2 separate regions of the Homo sapiens genome follow, and region 2 is linked to region 1. The links are contacts of gene promoters, found by promoter capture Hi-C in human tissues and cell types (Jung and others, 2019). All regions are on one chromosome and are shown on one strand. Each heading gives the region's core, a stretch centred on a gene start or on the middle of the fragment in contact. The rest is flanking DNA. Distances are from core to core; before and after follow the strand shown. Region 1 holds the start of PANX3 (pannexin 3). Region 2 has its middle 34 kb from the start of OR8B8.

Evidence for each region. Contacts are between HindIII fragments. The study calls those that stand out against the background at their distance.
Region 2: a contact is called between a fragment that was not itself captured here and the fragment with the promoter of PANX3 in region 1, in 1 of the 25 tissues and cell types used here (H1 embryonic stem cells).

What each region holds. Positions count from the first base shown.
Region 1 is chr11:124,607,113-124,612,759 of GRCh38, reverse strand. PANX3 (pannexin 3) reads right to left here and starts at 1,332. Exons shown (of 4, transcript NM_052959.3): 1 at 1,023-1,332. The coding sequence starts at 1,203. The HindIII fragment of the contact is 5,182 bases long and covers 95-5,276 here.
Region 2 is chr11:124,476,745-124,482,391 of GRCh38, reverse strand. It overlaps the pseudogene OR8B9P. Among named protein-coding and RNA genes, the nearest start is that of OR8B8, 34 kb to the right of the region's middle. The HindIII fragment of the contact is 5,845 bases long and covers 222-5,647 here.

The DNA of each region.
Region 1 (5,647 bases), core at 83-2,582:
TTTGGGTCTGGTGGTTCTTTGCTCTCAGAGCACCCCCTGGGCTTTTTGTGCTCCTGTAGTCTGGTACCAGAAGGCTTGCGGTTTGATGGTGATGTCTCTTTCCTGAAATAACTGACATCCTTTAGACTCTAAAATGTTGAGGATGAATTGCCTGGGCTTCCGAGCCTAAATGAAGAGAAAGGGTGGGCAAATTATGCCGAAAGGAAAGTGGACTTGGAGGAGAGTTCCTGCCTTTTTGTTTTCACATCATTCTCCAGAAAGAGGAAGAAGTGGGAGCCATTTCTTCTGCCCTGGTTGTGGATGAATAAAGAGGCGGTGGGAGGCTGGCACACCTGTTTGGGAAATGTAGTAAGCTAATGGCACTGCCAGAAAGGAAAGCCAGAAGTCTCAGTTCTCAGGAAGTCCACATTCTCTTTAACAAAGGTAGTGGATTTGCTGACTGAATCTAGCACCTGAAACCCTAGATGTATGTGTATGCTAATGTCTGTGTGTGCGGCTGGGGTTTGTAGACAGGAAGCAGTGGGTTTATGCAGCATCTCCAATGTGCATGGCCCTCAGGCACTTAACACATGTTCTCAAGTCAATAACCCTGGAGTTGGCGGGTTAGGGGTGGGAAGAGGGCCCAGAGCAAATAAGAGACTTGGCGACAGCCCAGCTAAGATGAAGAGGTCTAAGGCCCTAAAAACATTACCAGGAGTGTCAACTTCTTTCATCCATAATGAAAGCCAAAATAAAGCTTTCATCATTTGAAATGACATAAAATATATGAATACTAAAATTACAACAATTTTTTTTTTTTTTTTTTTTTTTACTGTAACATTTTGGAGATGACTTTCAAAATTTTTTGGTGCCTCTGCTTTGCTGGTGCCCTGAACTCATGCACCATCTGCCTTTTGGATAATCCAGCCCAGCCCGAAGCCATGGAATCCCGTCACTGTGCGCACCATCTCACTTCAGAGCCCATGCAGAGAGTGACATGAGGGGGAGTCTCTCTTGCGCACTGGGTCTTGGAAGCAACTTACCAGAGGAGAACTCCTGGGCGAATGCCAGGGACATCAGCAACAAGGGGGAGCCCACAGCTACGAACTTGACTATCCGGTCCAGGGGCAGTTCCAGACGCAGTCCTTTGAGGCGGGGTCCCCTGCGGTCAGGCAGCAGGGCATCTGAGAGCATGTACTCTGCAGCTGTGTGTGCAAGTGACATGATGCTGCTGAGCTTGGGGGTGCAGAGGTGGCAGCAGGGGTCCTGGGATGGTGGAATGAGGAGACGGCAGCTTCAGGCAGCTGACTTTGGGCAGACAGTGCCTGCCACCCCAGCCTTATGGATATCTCTGCTGGGAGCAGGCGATGGTTCTCTAAATAACTGCCCAGGCCCTGAGCCAGGCCCTGCTAATTAGAGGGAGGCATAGCCTTAGCGGGTCCTTGCTGGAGGAGGGTCGGGCCTTACCTGGGCCTGGTGCCACGCTGCTGTCTGGATTGTCCTAGAGCAGATGGAGGTCTGTGGCTTTATGCTGCCCTGTCATTGATAAAGTATTTTCAGTGGAGAGAAGGAGGGCTGTGGAGCCAGGACCCCCCTCCATGTAATTTGTGTGGAATTTGGGTGAGGATTGCTTAAATGTTTTGAAGGCACTCATTTTGTGGTTTGGAGTGGGAATGGAGTCCCCACGACCCAGCTGGGATTGCTACCCTACATAGTAGTCTTTGTCCCAGTGATGATTTTTGCTCTGGGCCCAGACTCTTTCCCAGAACTTTTCTGTATTTGGTGTTAGATTTCCTTCCCTGACTATGGTCTTTTTTCCAAAATGTTTCAACTACATATTTACAATTTCCAATTCCTTTTTAGCCCTTGGGTTCTTTACAAAGCTGGGGGATGCATGGCAGTGTTGAGTCATGGAAAGAGTACAACCTTTGAAATTCGGAGGAGAAACTCCTCCACTGGAGACCTAGGAGTACTCAGGTTTTAACTGTGTGACTTCAGGCAAGTCACTTTTAGCTCAGTTTCCCCATCTCTCAAATTGTGATATGTAACAAGCTTACAAGACTGTGGGGATTGATTAAGAGTATTGTTTGTGAAGGTGCTTTGTAAACCGTAAAGTGTAGCAGAAGTGTCAGCTCTTATTTCAATTTGGTGGGGGTGGGTAAGTGGAGAATAGGGCACTCTTGTCTCTAGTGTTGCCCTTAAACTGGCAATAGAGGCTCTTAACCTTATCCTCTTTGGTTGTGTCCTTCTCATGAGGCAAGGAGTACGTGGGCCCAAGGGGATGTGTCCATTCAGAGTCTGTGCACCCAGCTAGAAACCACTCTCTAAGGCCCTGCCCAAATGGCCTCAGCCTGCTTCCCAGACCTGTGTGGGCCTTTTTTTCAGGGGCAACTGCCCAAGGGAAGATTGTGCTGCTGGTGTGCACTTCTAGGCCCAAGGAATGGCTGGTTGTCAGGGTTTGGATGCAATTTATAAATCTTGGGGTGTCCACACATGCAATTCTGAGGTTTTTTGCAATGTGGGTGTTAGCTGAGTTGGGAAGAGAAGATTGGGCCAGGGGCTTGGGAGAGTCTGAGGATTCTAAATTTGAATCTGGCATTCCTGATCATTATGAAGCTGGGGTGTGTTTGTCTATATATGTCTAGGTGAGCAAGAATAACATATTTTATTTAACAGTTTGTTAACTTGGTTTATAACTTTTAATATTTTAGATATATGGTATGTGGATCTGTATTTGAACTTTTTTCTCCTAGGCCACAAATGTTTGGGCTGGGCTTACCTCTCTCCCCATCCCACAGGCTAGAGGCCAACTTGGATTCAGAGCTGCCCCGCGTGGGCTAACTGGCGTGTATGGGTCATGGGGCAGCAGAAGGGACCCTTTATTTCTATTCCCCATTACCCTCCCCACACCACATTTCTGTATCTTTTAATTAGGCATGTTTTTGCCAAATGTTTATTATTAGTTTGTATGCATGCATATCCTTTTACTTTTTAAAAATACATTTTTATTGAGAAATAATGTACACACCTTAGTATTGTGTACGGTGCACACAACTTGGGTGACGGGTACACTAAAATCTCAGACCTCACCACTATGCAGTTTATCCGTGTAACCAAAAACGATTTGTACCCCAAAAGCGATTGAAATAAAAAATTAAAAAGACCAAAAAACGAGAGAAAAATTCACATACCATAAGGATGCAGTTTAATAAATACTCGTCTGATCAAGAAACAGAACATTACGAGCACCCCAGAAACCACCTCTGTGCTCCTCTCTTCCAGCTTTTCCAAACGGTAAGCATTATATAAACTTCTAATTGATTAGTTTTGCTTTTTTATACATTATGAAAATGGAATCTTGTGTATTTACTCTTTTGTGTCTGGCTTCTTTTGCTCCACATCATATTTATGAGAATCATCCATTTCATTGCCTGTTTTTGTACTTTATGTAAATGGAATCATGTGCATGTGTTTATGTGTCTGGATTCTCTGCTCAACATATTTTTGAGATTCACCATGTTGCATGTACCAGAAATGCGTTTCCTCTGTGTAGATATATAACAATTTGTTTATCCATTCATAAGCTGACAGATATTTGAGTTTTCAGGTTCTGGATGTTATGAGATACTGTTGCTGTGAACATCCTAATATGTGTCTCCTGGTGAATATATGTATGCACTTATGTTGGGTACATATTGAGGGGTGGGATTGCTAGGTCATAATGCTATGCATATGTTTATCTCTATAGTTTTTCAAGAGGTTGTTTCAGTTTACACTTTCACCAACAGCTTATGAAAATCCTAGTTGCTGCACATCCTTGACATTACACTTTTGGAATTAAAATTTTTTTTAAGCCATTTTGGAAGGTGTATAGTAGTAATGCAATGTGGTTTTAACTTGAATATCTCTGTTGACTAATGAAGTTGGCTACTTCGGCCATTTGGATATCTTCTTTTGTGGATGGATGTGGGTGTACGTCTGAGTCTTTTGCCTGTTTTTCTGTTGGGTTGTCTGTCTTTTGCTTATTGATTTGTAGTACTCTTTCAAATATTCTGGATGTGAGACCATTGCTAGCAATATGTTTTATTTATATCTTCTTCCACTCCACTTGTTGCCTTTTCATTCTCTTAATGGTGTCTTTTGATGACCAGAATTTCTAATTTTAATACAGTCAATGTATCATTTTTTTCTATGGATAGTGCTATATGTATTCTGTTTAAGAAGCAATTGGTTATTAATTACAATACCATGAAAAATGTTTCCTAGGTGTTCTCCAAAATATTTTTGTTTTATCTTTCTCATTTGGGTCTGCAGTTCATCTATAATTTTTTTTAACATATGGTATGAGATATGAGTCAAGAAATATTATTTTCCATATGGCTATCCAGCTGACTCAGCACAATTTATTGTAAGACCTTTCCTTTCTCATTGCAGTGCAGTGTTGTCATGGTCATAAATCAGGTGACTGTGTTCCAGCTGACAATGTCTTTTTTTTTTTTTTTTTTTTTTTGCCAACACTACAATATCTTAGCTAGTATAGCTTTATAGTAGGTCTTGGCACCTGTAGTGTAGATCTTCCAGTTTTATTGTTCTTCAGGATTGCTCTGGCTATTTTGGATCTTTTGCATTTCTACATGAATTTTACCATCAGTTTTTGAATTTCAGCAGGAAAGAAACCTGCTGGAATTTTTGATTGTGACTTTAATTTACAGCTTAATTTGGGAAAAATTGCCTTCTTTACAGCATTTAGTCTTCAAATCTATGAACATGGCATATCCCTCCATTTGCTTAAGACTTCTTTCTGAGGCCGGGTGCAGTGGCTCACACCTGTAATCCCAGCACTTTGGGAGGCCAAGGTGGGTGAATCACCTGAGGTCAGGAGTTCGAGACCAGCCTGGCCAACATGATGACAACCCATTTCTAGTAAAAATACGAAAAATTAGCTGGACGTGGAGACAGGTACCTGTAATCCCAGCTACTCGGGAGGCTGAGGCAGAAGAATCACTTGAACCCGGGAGGTGGAGGTTGCATGAGCCGAGATCGTGCCACTGCACTCCAGCCTGGGCAACAAAAGTGAAACTCTGTCTCAAAGAAAAAAAAAAAAAAGACGTCTTTCTGTCCGTAGCAACTTTTGGTTTTAAGTGCAGATGTCTTACACATCTATTGTTGGATTTATTCCTAGGTGTTTGATGTTTCTTGATGCTATTGTTAACCATATATTTTTTAAAAAATTGATTTTCTAATTGTTTGTTGCTCACATATGAAAATACAACTGATTTTTGTACACTGATCTTGTATACGTCAATCTTATTGAATTCATTTATTGATTCTAATAGTTTGTAGATTAATTCAGATTTTTAAAAATCTATACAACCATATCATTTATGAAAAATCACAGCTTTCTTTCTTTCTTTCTTTCTTTCTTTCTTTCTTTCTTTCTTTCTATCGTTATGCCTTTTATTTATTTTCTTGCCTTATTACACTGGTTAGGCCATCCAGTATAATATTGAATATGAGTAGTGATAATGGGTATCTCTGTCTTGTTCCTTCTCTCAGGCGGAAAGTTTTCAGTGTTATTATTGAGCAGGATGTTCATTGTAGGTTTTTTTCCTTTTTTTTTATTGGTAGGAATTCTTTTTCACATTAAAGAAGTTCTCCTTTATTCCTA
Region 2 (5,647 bases), core at 1,895-4,394, 130 kb after region 1:
GTCCATTGGTATTTTTTTTTCTATAGCACTGTGGATATTTTCCTCTGTAATTGAGTATCATTTAATTACAAGTTTTAAATGGTTAATTTGTGTTAAAAAAAAAAAAAAACAACTAAAAACCAAGTGAACATTGAGATTATACAGTGGAAAATAAAGTCTTTATCCCTGCCACCCCCCCCACCCCACCCCCACAAAAATGCTCAGACCAGGGGAGTCAGACCGCAGAGCTCTCCTGCTGCGGCAACTCTATAGCCCTGGGACTTTGTGCAGGTAACCCAGACAGGGATGAGTGTAACGCCACACAGCGTTTAGAACAGTGCCTATCCCATAGTTAGTGCTCAGTAAATGTTTCTTTTCTTCTCCCTCCCACTACCTTAATTTCCATTAACCTCCCGGTGTGTGTAGCCTTTCTCTCTTTCTGAGTGACTCTTTCTTTTTCTCTCACAGACAGTCCTAGAGGAGAATGCCTGCCAAGAACTCCTCCTCCGTGACAGCGTTTATCCTCTCAGGCTTAACCGACCAGCCGGGACTCCAGATCCCCGCCTTCTTCCTGTTTCTAGGTTTCTACGCGGTCACGGTGGTGGGGAACCTGGGCTTGATAATCCTGATAGGGCTCAACTCTCGCCTGCATATCCCCATGTACTTTTTCCCCTTCAACTTGTCCTTCATAGATTTTAGTTATTCCACTACCCTCGCCCCTAAAATGCTGATGAGCTTTGTCTCAGAGAACATCATTTCCTATGCAGGGTGTATGACTCAGCTTTTTTTCTTCTGTTTCTTTGTCTTTTCTGAATCCTATATTCTATCAGCGATGGCGTATGACCGCTACGTGGGCATCTGTAACCCACTGTTGTACACGGTCACCATGTCTCCCCAGATGTGTTTGCTCCTTTTACTGGGTGTCTATGGGATGGGGATTTTGGGGCTGTGGCTCATATGGGAAACATAATGTTTATGTCCTTTTGTGGAGACAACCTTGTCAATCACTATATGTGTGACATCCTTCCTCTCCTTGAGCTCTCCTGCAACAGCTCTTACATAAATTTGCTGGTGGTTTTTATTATTGTGACCGTTGGCATTGGGGTGCCGATTGTCACCATTTTTCTCTCTTATGGTTTTATTCTTTCCAGCATTCTCCACATTAGTTCCACAGAGGGCAGGTCTAAAGCCTTCAGTACCTGCAGTTCCCACATAATTGTGGTATCGCTTTTCTTTGGGTCAGGTGCTTTCATGTACCTCAAACCACCTTCTATTCTACCCCTGGACCAGGGGAAAGTGTCCTCCATTTTTTGTACTGCTGTGGTGCCCATGTTTAACCCATTAATCTACAGCCTGAGGAATAAAGATGTCAAAGTTGCCCTGAGGAGAACCTTTTGCAGAAAATTAGTCTCTTAAAAATGAATGAGAAAGGGAATCCAAACCTTTGTTAATCAGGGGGTTTCTTTTCTTTTTTTCAGTGAGGGAACAAATGCCACTGCTTTCTCTCCTATACTTAGAGAAAAATTTTAAATGTATTCTTAAGTGCACTTACACCCTGCACTGCTTATCCACACCAACTATTCCAATTGTTATTTTATGAGAATAGTTTCTACTGTTATACAGGGTTTAATCTTGAATAGGCTTATGAAATCATTTACTCCAGTCTCCTCATGCAATACATCACACTCAAAAATATTTTGTAGGCTGCCAAAGGACACACATGTACCTGATGCCAGAGCTGAAACTAGAGTCCAGGCTCTTGAATTTTAATACAATCTGCTGTGTTTTTCTTCAGCTACACTTCCTTGTTCCATCGTTTCCCTGACTGATTTCATTTAAAATTTTTTTTTTTGCATTTAAAGATATCTAATTATATTCATAGTGATGTCATGCAACTTTTCAAAGGTTAATTTTTGGAATAACATTTTTGCAAGAGTGTTGGAAGTGAAAAATGTGGTTGATGTGGTCTTGACAAAAAGATAAGAGAAAATTTTAAAGAATTTTGGGGTGTGTGAGTGAGAAGTAGATTAGGTTCCTTATAGAATCAAGGATGGTGCCCATGGAGATGGTATAGAGCCTTGAGTGAAGGCTTACAATAGAAGGCCTTCTAAGGGAGAGATAAACAGAGTTGAGGGAGTTAAATTTGTTAGATACAAGCTTTATTCTTCATCTGAAGATTAACGGAGACAGAATTTGGAGCCTCACCTCAAAGGTCTGAATAATGTAAATTAGTAATAGACAGCTCTGGATAAGTGAGCCATTAGAACCACGGCAGCCAACTAGTTGTTAGGGGAGGCAATTGCCATTATATAGTTAAGACATTGCATATATCTGTGACCTTCTATTAATAACAATAGGGCATAAAGGGAAGGGACGGTGGTCTTAGGAGAGGTCATATATTCACAGCATTGGGTAAGTGGAAGTACAACTTTGTATAACGAATGAGAGTAATTTTTTTGATCTGAATACATTAGTAATGGTAACAATTATTTCAGAAGTCATGGCATATGAACTGTCTGGAAGATAGTTTAATTTACAAACTTTGAAAAGTTATCTTCTATTAGAAAAAGGGGAAGTTCGGATTAATGTTTAGCTTTCTTCCTTTGGAATCTTTTGGTTTAACGAGGATAGAATTCAGGAAATGAAAGTGTAGGGGAGGGTTGTGTTTTGATGCTAAGGGAGATGAATGATGATGAAATTCAAGACACATGGATTGAGGGTGCACTGGGAATGGTGGAGAATCAGTACAATGAAAACACCCTACTCCTTCTTAAATTGAAATATAAATTTTACAGTGAAGTGCACAAACATTAACTGCTCGATGATTTTTTTTCACATTTATAAGGCTATGATTACTTACCTCCACCCAAATGAAAATATAGCAGATTTTTTATCATTTCAGGGTACTCCTGCCTGCCCTTTCCCAGTAATTACTACTCCCCATGCTCTTCCTGGAAATATTCACTATTCTTACTTTATCATCACAGTTTCATTTTTCTCGTGCTTGAACTTCATATAAATGTTAAATAGTGCATTTACTTTCTTACGTTTCACTTAACATAGAGAGTCATGTGAGATTCATCCATAACAGTTTTCTTGGTTATTGCTGTTTATTTTAGTATTCCATTGTAAGAATGTAGAGCAATTTGCTTATCAATATCTTCTTTATGGACATTTGCCTTGTTTTCAATTTCTACATGTTATTAATAAAGCTGTTATAAACATTCCTTTTTTTTTTTTTTTGAGACATAGTCTCGCACTGTTGCCCAGGCTGGAGTGCAATGGCACGATCTCGGCTCACTGCAACCTCCACTTCCCGGGTTCAAATCATTCTCCTGCCTCAGCCTCCAAAGTAGGTGGGATTACAGGCACCCACCACCACACACAGCCAATTTGTGTATTTTTAGTAGAGACAGGGTTTCACCATGTTGCCCAGGCTGGCCTCCAACTTCTGACCTCGTGATCTGTCTGCTTCGGCCTCCCAAAGTGCTGGGATTACAGGCATAAGCCACCATGCCTGGCCTATAAACATTCTTGAACATGTATTTTGCTGGAAATATACACTTATTTTTGTTTGGGTATATACCTAGATGTAGATTTTATGGGTCACAAGGTAGGCATATGTTTAGGCTTCTAAATGCTATCAAATTGTCTTCCAAAATATTTAAACTGATTTGCACTCCCATCAATAAATTCCAGAAAAGGATACTCTTCATCCTTATTTTCAGTATTTTTCATTTTAATTACTCCGTTGGGTGTGTAGTACAGTATTGCTTTAGTCTTTTAGATATTTCCCTGATAAATAATGATTTTTTTTTTTTTGACGGAGTCTTGCTCTGTCGCCTAGGCTGGAGTGCAGTGGCATGATCTCGGCTCACAGCAACCTTCACCTTCCAGGTTCAAGCAATTCTCCTGCCTTAGCCTCCCGAGTAGCTGGGGTAACAGGAGCCTGCCACCACACCTGGCTAATTTTTGTAGTTTTACTAGAGACGGGGTTTCACTATGTTGGCCAGGCTGGCCTCGAACTCCTGACCTTTTCTTAACAGACAAAGTCTTGCTCTGTTGTCAGGCTGGAGTGCGATGGTGTGATCATGGCTCACTGGAGCTTTGAACTCCTGGGCTCAAGCTATCTTCCTGTCTCAGCCTGCTGAGCAACTGGAACTATAGGTACATGCCACCACACCTGGCCACTTTTTCTATTTTTTGTAGAGATGAGGTCTCACTATGTTACCCAGGCTGTTACCAAATACCTGGGCTCAAGTGATCCTCTCATCTTGGCCTCCCAAAGTGTTGGGATTACAGGTGTGAGCCACCACACCCAGCCTTGTTGGGCACTTTTTATATGTTCATTAGCTATTTGGACATCACCATTTGTGAAGTGCCTGTTCAAGTCATTTGGCTACTTAAAAATAGTGTTGTTGCTGGGCACGGTGGCTCACACCTGTAATCCCAGCACTTTGGGAGGCCAAGATAGGCGGATCAAGAGGTCAGGAGATCGAGACCATCCTGGCTAATATGATGAAACCCCGTCTCTACTAAAAATACAAAAAAATTAGCCTGGTGTGGTGGTGGGCACCTGTAGTCCCAGCTACTTGGGAGGCTGAGGCAGGAGAATGGCATGAACCCAGAAGGCGGAGGTTGCAGTGAGCCGAGATCGCGCCACTGCACTCCAGCCTGGGCGACAGAGTGAGACTCCATCTCAAAAAAAAAAAAAAAAAGTGTTGTTATTCTTTTTTCTTATTGATTAGTTTTTTAAAACGTATAATCTGGATATGAGTACTTTTTCAGACACACACATTGCAGTTATCTTTACTCAGTCTCTGGCTTGCCCCATGACTACTCATTAATTATGTCCTTTGATAATGATATTTCAATTTCAATTTGAATAAAGTTCATTTGTCCACTTCTTTTACTGTTCATGCTTTCTTCTGTTTAATTTTTTTCCTACTACATAGTCACAAAGTCATTCTCAGGTTTTCCTTTGAAAGCTTCATGATTTTTCCTTTAAAATTTAGATTTTAGATCAATTTTAAATCAGTTATCATGTATGGTGTGCAGTTGTTTTATTTCTTTCATAAAGATATTAAGTTGCATCAGCATCATTTATTGAAAAGACCTTCTCTCCTCCCTGAATTGTATTGGCTATATTTGTACGTGTGTATTTGAAGATCAAGTGACAATAATTTAGTGGGACTAATTTGAGAGAAGTTGACATGGAGCCAAAGTGCTGTATTCTCCCATTACAATGGTGAATAGTAATGAGGAAAACAGACATGCTTTTCTTGTTTCGAAGTGGAATTTCATACCTTTCATACCTTTTACTTTATTTTAAATAACTTTTTAAAATTTAATTTTCAATTATTAGTAGTATGTAGTAGCACAGTTGTTTTTTGTATACTGAATTTGTATCTAGCATCTTTGTTATTTCACTTATGAAATCTAATTGTTAGCTAAACTCGACAAAAGAGAAACTAAGAATTTGTACTTTGTTTTTTCTGTATATACTCATGTAATCTGCAAATAAAGACAGGTTTGATTCTTCCTTAATGGTCTTTATACCTTTTATCTATTTTATTTTTTTCAGTGTCCTGTCTAAGACTTCCAATACAATGATTAATAGAGATGAGAATGGATGACCCTGTCTTGTTTCTGACCTTAGGGTAAAGGC